Regions from separate parts of the Homo sapiens genome. Here region 1 is linked to region 2. The links are contacts of gene promoters, found by promoter capture Hi-C in blood cells and fetal thymus (Javierre and others, 2016). All regions are on one chromosome and are shown on one strand. The core of a region is centred on a gene start or on the middle of the fragment in contact, and the rest is flanking DNA. Distances in the headings are between cores, read along the strand shown. Region 1 overlaps ANO10 (anoctamin 10). Region 2 holds the start of TOPAZ1 (testis and ovary specific TOPAZ 1).

Evidence for each region. Contacts are between HindIII fragments. The CHiCAGO score rates a contact against its expected background, and 5 or more counts as called.
Region 1: a contact is called between a fragment that was not itself captured here and the fragment with the promoter of TOPAZ1 in region 2, in 3 of 17 cell types (activated CD4 T cells, total CD4 T cells and total CD8 T cells). The highest score is 7.4, in activated CD4 T cells.

Annotation. Positions count from the first base shown.
Region 1 is chr3:43,547,640-43,551,688 of GRCh38, forward strand. It overlaps ANO10 (anoctamin 10), which reads right to left. Exons shown (of 13, transcript NM_018075.5): 11 at 2,081-2,209. Among named protein-coding and RNA genes, the nearest start is that of ANO10, 72 kb to the right of the region's middle. The HindIII fragment of the contact is 9,659 bases long and covers 1-4,049 here.
Region 2 is chr3:44,240,374-44,244,541 of GRCh38, forward strand. TOPAZ1 (testis and ovary specific TOPAZ 1) reads left to right here and starts at 1,513. Exons shown (of 20, transcript NM_001145030.2): 1 at 1,513-2,026; 2 at 2,480-4,168. The coding sequence starts at 1,681. The HindIII fragment of the contact is 1,559 bases long and covers 1,103-2,661 here.

The sequences.
Region 1 (4,049 bases), core at 425-2,924, 690 kb before region 2:
ATCCCTAGAATGTGCAGATTAAGTGAATCGAGTGAGGATTAGACTAGCAAAACCATCCTGTTTAACACGAGACTAGCCACCTGCAGAACAGTATTTATAGGCCAGTAAGTCTCCCGAATTAAGTAAGAAGAACCAGGCCCTCAATATGTGATTAAGGTATCACTAAATACAAAAGAAAGCAGTAGGCTAATCAATGGTAATATATTGAGCCAGCCAGGAATCTAGAGAAAGTGAGGGCAAAAATCAAGATGTAGACTGTAATGAGCTCATCCAGCATTGCTCAGAAGCTAGCGATGGACACCAAGAGCTGGCTCATGAGAGAGCTCTGCTCTGTGTGGAGGTAGGGATGGTTTTCAGGTTTTCTGCGTATTTCAGGATATTACACCACTCCTGCTCTTGTTCTAAATTTACCAAGAAATCTTCTAATAACCAATCCACCTTCACTTTAACATCCACTGTTACGGTATTGGTAAAGTATCTTTTTATTGTAAATTAACCACCTGGCTTTCTGGTCAATCCCTTGTAAGTTTCATGAGTTTTAAGTTTCAGTCAGTCCCAAAAGCCTTTAATTAACTCTGAGTATACTGGCAAAGACAAATTTTTAGATCTGTGAAGTGAAGTGCCATATTCTAAATCAAGAAAGCACACTACAAGCCTAGCCAGCTGGTCTCTCCCTGTCAAAGGTAACTCTGTCTTGTTTTCTCACTTCCACAGGTCATAAATCAGCCTTGCAAATAGCTCTCCAAAATTCTATTCAACTTACAAAATTCAAAATAGACTACTTGTATCTGTCAGGGCCATTTTCTTTTCCCTCCCACTCACTGCTGTCTAAAATCATTCTCCAAAATGCATATTCCACATATAGCATCTATCATGAACACAGATTCCTACCAAATACAATAAGAGCCAAAAAGAGCAAAGCAGAATATATTTCTTTAGCCAACACTGGAAATGTGCAAGTTCATGATTTCCTTTCCTCTGGTCAGCCCTGAGTCCTAAGGCCTTAAGTATATGAAACACCATTCAGGATCCTCCTAAGTTCTGCTTTTATAGAGTTCCATAACTGTTTTGTTTTTAAAATATCTAAAAATGAAAGGTGGTTACAATATTCTTGACAACTATAATTACAAGCAACAAAAAAAATTCCTACAAATTATTCCATTTACATTTGGTTAGTGCTTAATTTCCAAGATGTTACAGGGATCCATATTCTGAAACATGATAAAAGAAAAACGTAAAAAGAGCACAGACAGCCTGCTTGGGCTTTGCATGTGAAATTATCTATCGTCCTACAAATTACATTTTGAAGTTTGAGAGTGTTTCACAATGAATTTCACACCTGTAGCAAATGAGACTTAAGTCATTATCAAAAAGTGTTTTTAGGATTTGCTTAAGAAAGTAGAACTGTCTTTTCTCTAAAATAGACTAAAAATACATATTAAATGTATGGAATTTGATTTTGAATAGGATTTTTTTTTTAAGGGACAGTGTCTCGCTCTGTTGCCCAGGCTGGAGTGCAATGGTGCCATCATAGCTCACTGTAACCTTGAACTCTAGGGCTCAGTCAATCCTCCTGCCTCAGCCTCCCAAATAGCTAGGACTACAAGAATGAACCAAATTACAGTACCAAATTACATCAGGTACCAAATTACCATCAGGTACCAAATTACATCAGGTAATTTTTAAATTTTTTGTGGAGACAGGGTCTTATGTTACCCAGGTCTTGAACTCCTGGCCTTATGTCATCCTTCTGCCTTGGCTTGGGTGCTGGGATTACAGACGTGAGCCATGGCACCTGATCCTCAAATAGGATTTACCTACTTAGCACTGGGCAGGCCAGCATAATAGTGGAAAAGTCACTTCCTGTTTGCATTGTGGTGACAGTTTTTCATACTTGGGCAATAACCATGAATACACAGCCTGAATCCTCATGTTTTCTATTACTTGAACTGTTTTTGCTTTCTTACCAGTAAATCCATATTGCTCAATTGTCAGTCATGGACAGCCCGAGACAGCACTGCTTTGGAATAGAGAAACGTAATATGGATACTGCTTAAAATAAGTTTAAATCTTTACTTACCTCCACTGCTACTACAATCAAAATGAGGTCTGCTTTTGATTCTGGAAAGACTGCATTCACTTGTGGTGACATTCCAATCAGCGCACAGTTAGTGACCACAGATATAACACTCATCGTTTCAAAAGCCAACTAAAAGAAAAAAGAATGGAAATTAAAAATTGCAATGACTGCTTCCATATTTCCTCATCCTTTTTCATGTTATCTAAAAATCAAGGAAAATGTCTTACCCTAGTTCTAAACATTCCAAGTACATTTTAAATTTTTTTCTCTGTCATGGTATGATTTTTTTAGCTGAAAAAAAAGCCATACTGTTAGGCAGTATTTTAGATACTTTTGGCATGAATATCCCAAAGCAGTATGTTCTATCTTCCTAATTGGAGGCAGCCCTGGACCTGAATTGGGAATACTGTTAAAGTTACTCTACTCACATCTAAGGGGAATCTAAAGTAGGGCTGCCAGGGAAAAATGTTTCACATTAAAAAACAGGTAAGATTTCAAACAGAACTTATGTTGTGAAACCATCCTTCTACTTTGACATCACACACCACATCTGACTCAGCTATAACCAGCTTTATAATCAAGGCACCAGTGATAAATGGTGATCCTTTTCTAGCATCATTTAGCAAATCAAATGTAGAACTTTAGAAAAATATAGATGCTAGGCCCCACTGAGACCTACTAGACAAACTGGTCCAGCATTCCCTGAAGGAGACTTTGGTGCATACTGCCAAGGATGGATGGAGAAATGTTGTGACCATTGCTCTTTTTTTCTTTAATACAAAGTATATGGTGATCACCACTTAATAATTTACCCATTAATTCCAAGAAACACAAGTACTATTAGAAACATTAATTTTAAAAGAAGCAAAACAAAAGATGACTGAATCCAAACTTAATATGAATACATTTTGTCCCATGGAGAACTTCTGCCATCTTACAATTTAGAAATCTTTGTGTAGTCTGATTATTTTTCCACAGTTTTCTTCATAAGAAATCTAAGACTGTCTTTACTTTAGTTTAAAATTTCTATTTATTTACTTTTGATTATATTCTCATGGCTTAAAAATAAAAAATTCTAAGTACATAGTGAAGAGTGTCTTTTTCCCTTGTCCCCTTTTCTTCCACTTCGCAGCTCCCATTCTCCCTAGAAGACAACCACTATTTGCAATTTCTTATGTATTCTTCCAGACAGTTTGTATGCAAAATAAGCATATTGAATATATACACTCTTTCCTACTCCCTTTTCAGCATACTACATACTGTCAGGCCCCTTGCTTTAGTCATTTAAAGTGTCTTGAGGGACTTTCTGTGTCAATACTAAAAGAGCTCCCTCATTCTTTGCCACACTGCTTCTGCATTTTATTACATGGACGTATCAGAATTTATGTAACCATTTTCTTATTGGTGGGCATTTAGTTGCTATTACAAACAGTGCTACAATTGGTGATCTTATAAGTACATCATTTAACAAATGTGGAATTAGGCTAAATTCTGGAAAGTGAAATGGCTGAGTCAAAGGGGACATGCATTTGTAATTTTGATAGATAAATACGAAGCTGCACTCCATGGGTTGACCAGCTCATGCTTCCACCAGCAGCATATGACAGTGCCTGGCTTCCTGAACTTGCAATATGTTTGTAACTAAACTTTCAGGTTTTTTTTAAAATCACCTATATTGAGTTATAATTTACATATAATAAACTGCATGCATTTAAGGTATATACTTCATTACCTTTTGATAGGTGTATTTACCTGTGAAACCACCACCACCACAAACAAGACACAGGACATTTCCATTTCCCCCAAAAGATTCCTCATGACCTTGCAATTCAGCCCTCTCTTTACACCTGTGTCCAAACAAAATATGATCTGCTTTTTGTCAATATAGATTTGTTTGCATATTCCAAAATCACATATACATTTAAGATTGCTATGTCTTCCTGGTAATTTGACACTTTTATCATCATAG
Region 2 (4,168 bases), core at 263-2,762:
CACTTGGTTGGAAGGAAGCTACTAAGGGAGACACACAAGTAAATAGTTGAACTGTGTGTTCGCAGACAGGAAGGAACACTTTACCCCTCAAAGTGCAAGAACAGTTGCAGGAAGGCTTCCTTGATGGGTGATCCTTGCATGAATCTTGAAGGGGAAATATGTAGTTTACCAGGCAGACAAGCAAAGGAAGACTTTCCAGGACTGTCAGGTACAGAAGCACAAGCATAACAAAAGTATATGAAATCTGGGGAACTTCAGGTAGTAGTCCAACGTGGCTTATGGGCAGGCTATGTGTGGTGATAAGAGATAATTTTCAAAAAAGAGAAAATAATGGCTGTCATGGATGAACATGTATTAAAGATTATATTCTCCCATCAGGCAGATTTTATAAACATTGGTTCAAAGGGTAAGTCCAAACAACAAACATTCTAGACCAGGAATGAAGTGAATGTGGAAATGGAGGCAAAACTAGCTTCTTCCACAGTGAAAATGGGAAGTCAATTAAACTTCTATTGGACAGAATTTGGATTTCTATAGACCGTTATTTTGTGTTGCTATCGCTTATCTATAATTTACAGAGTTGTAAAATAACTCCCATAGAATCAGAATCAGATAATTCAGAAGGGTGACTTCTATGTAGTTTTCCATCAAAGCACAACTTTTACCCTACAGTGGCAGTAAGAGAAAACTAGTTAATTTTTCAGAGGCCACATCAGATAGGGTCACAGATACCACACCAGAGTTTGGATTTCTGTTAGTTTTAGTCTTTGAGCAAAAGAAGTTCATGAAGGGTCAAACTGAGAAGTGCTAGGATCTCCTGTCATCGGAGAGGCATGGCCTGGCAAGGAGGTGGACGTTTGACTGGAATAGCTCAAGGATGGATTCAGAGGCTTGATGCAGTAGGTCAGTCAAGAAAGTCTGAGGGCCAGAGCCACGGTAATGGCAAACGGGAGAGTGGCTGACAAACAAAATACAGTCAAGTAGATCTAGTGAAAGTGGATGTGAGGGATGAAGTAGAAAGAAGGTTGTCTCTGATGGTTTCTAGGTTTCTGGCTTAAACAATTAGGCGCATGGTGGCGCATCCACCTATGTGAAAGGAGCAAGCTTGTGAGGAGCGATGAGCTGGTTTGCCCATCTGAGTGTGAGGTGCCTGTGGAATATGGAATATCCGGGTGAATATATCAGGAAGACAGTTAGACAGGGGCTTCTAGGAGACTTGGTGTGGAGTTACAAGCCACTGACAGTGGCCTTTGCGAGCAGCCAAGGCGCGAAGAGCAGCAGCTGGGAGAATGAGCCCTGAACGGTTCCAGGAAGCTCAGCCTAGTGGAAGGGCCAACGGAGGCCTGTTATGTGATGAGCCCCACTACAGTCCCTCGCAATGCAATCGGGCGCGGCCACTGCCTCCCTCGGAGCTCCGCGAGAGGCCCTCCAAAAAGACGCTGGCACGGAACTCGCGGCTCTCCTGCCCGTTGGATCCCGAAGCACCAGTCGGGGCCCCAGACACGAGGCCCCACTTCCGCTTACGCGCCCCACTTCCGCTTCCGGCCCCGGGCTGTGGTGACTGGCGGTGTGGGGTGGGTCAGAGGGCAGTAGGTACCTCCAGGCGGGAGCAGCGTTTGCACCGCGGTGGGTTCCTGCGAGCTGGTGCAGAGGGGCCCCAGCGGGCCGGCCCCGGGGCACATGCGACGACCTCCACCCCTGGGCCCCACGACGGCCTCAGGGCCTGAAGGCAATGTGCGAAACCTGCAGAAGCGGCAGGCGCCAGGGCCAGGCGCGGCGGGAGGCTGTGGCCCTGAGGCCGGGGGGTGCCGGGAAAATAAGCAAAAGAGGAGAATGGTGGCCCGGGCCACCCCTGGGAGAGGCGAGGTGGAAAGTGATAAGTCGGTTGCAGCATCAGGGGCTGGAAAGGCCGCAAGGCGTCAGGTGGAGGGGCGCAGGGGCCCGGTGAGCCCGTCAGACTCGTCAGACCCGCGAGGCCTAGAAGCAGCAAAGGAGGCTGAACTCCCCTTGCAAACGGAAAGACACAGTAAGAAAGCATCCACGATCACTTACCTTTAGCCCTTGTACCTCAGCGTGCTCCATCTTTGTTTTACCACTAGTCTTTAACTTGAACCTGCATGGTTATTTCTGATGCACATAGTTGACCAGGAGATGGGAAAAATGGATTTCCTTAAAAGGGGTGTTCCCTGTTAGGAATCCTTGGTCAGAATTATGATAGGAGGAATTCCTACTTGTGGTCCATTTTGGCTAGTATGAGATGACGATGTTATAAGGGTTATTCAGTTGCCTTAGAATTTATACAGGTTTATATGTAATTCCTTAACAGAAATTAAGGCTTTCATTTAAAAACAAATGTGTATTTACATACAGCTGTTCAGGGAAATAAAAATGATAGCCTCACAATTTTTAATTTCAATGATAATTGCATTTTCCTCCTCAATATAAAATCTTTTCTGATATATTTTGTTGTTTTGATCAGCCAAGGAAAAAAGAAAAGTTACTGAAGCCTCAAGTGATGATCCACAGCCAGGGCTTGACTTGGTAAGAAAGGAATCATTAACCAGTTCGGAATCTTTCCAAACAGTGGAATGCTTGCAGTCTTTGGGTAAGGAAAGTATAATAGAAGGTATTAAAAGAAGAATTCGAAATAAAAAACTTAAAAGCTTAGAAAACCCACCTCTCAAAATAACCGAAAATGAGGCTACACAAAATATTAAGGTTGAATTCCAAGATGAACTGTACAAGAATACTCCAAAATATTCTTGTAATATCTTGTCACCTGAAGTAGAAAATAATTCCGTTTTAAAATTACGTGATTGCAATTGTTTCCCCCATTCCAAGGGTTGTAATGATGAAAACAACCTGCCATATAAACCTGATGGTGGATGTATGCATGTAGCAGAAAATTTCTCAAAGAAAGAAAACCTTAGGAGTCTTGCAGAGAAGAGTGACACAAATAGTATTCCTCAGCTCTTACAAACAGAAGAAAATGTAATGGGAGTAAATAAGTTACTACCAGAAGAGAGTGATTTATACCAAAGTAAAACCAATGGCTTGCTTTCCTGCCTTCAACATGAAAAAAATAAATATTCAATAGAGGAGAGCAGTGTTGGGCGAAAACCCAGGAAAAGGATGAAGTTGTCTGAAAAAGCAGATGAAACAGTTACTGAGATGAACTTCTCTAATGAGTATAACAAGTCTGAGTTGATGTTGCAAGAAAATCAAATGATTGCTGATGGTAAAGAAGCAGAGACTAAAAGTCCTTTAAATGTTTTGAGAAAAGTAAGCCATAATACAGTCTCTTTGATGGATCATTTATTAAGTGTCCCAGAAACAGTAGAAAAAGAAACAAGTTCTGAACATCATGTAAATGCTGTGTTTCAGAAAACCATTGAACCACTTTTGAAAGAAGAAACAGAGAATGCTTCAGAGCCGTTAGGTTATGAAAGCATGGCATCGAAAGAGGATTTTAAATCGATGAAAAGCTTCATAGGGAAATCACCTAATGAGTACCATATTGAAAGGAGATCTTCACGGGAAGACTTAAGAAGTGCATCTGAAGAATTGAAGTTAAGCTGTCAGAGAACAATACCTATGACTGGTAAAAGAACTTGGCCCTATTATTCATGTGCTAGAATATCTGCCTGGTGTTGGAAAAAGGCTTCCTTGCCAGAATCAAGTTACTTTCTTCGTGGGTCTCAGGAAAGTTGTAGGCAAGTTGATGTCCCTAAACACCAAACAAACCAGACCCATTTAACTGACTCCAAATTATTATTACAAAGTTCCTTAACAGAAACAAACACTGAATCTTCAAGTAAAGAAAAATTAGATTCTAATTCTAATTGTTTGTCTTCAGTTTCTGCAGTAGAACCTACTTTAATGGTTATAAAGGAACCTATAATCAAGGATGATAAAAAGATAAAATCAGAGGAACTGAGCAGAAGAGGGTCAGAGGTAATTTCTAACACTACTGAAGATACTCAATTAACCAGTGAGACTCAAAGCTTAACGGGAAATAAAAAAAAAGCTAGAGGAAATTTAACGAAACTTAATTTGACAGCGACTTCCAAAGATGGTCAGGAAGCAAATAACTCTGCAGGCAAAACTATTCATCGAAAAGCATGCATTGCTCAACAAACATTTATAGTTCCAGACTTGGTTAAAATAT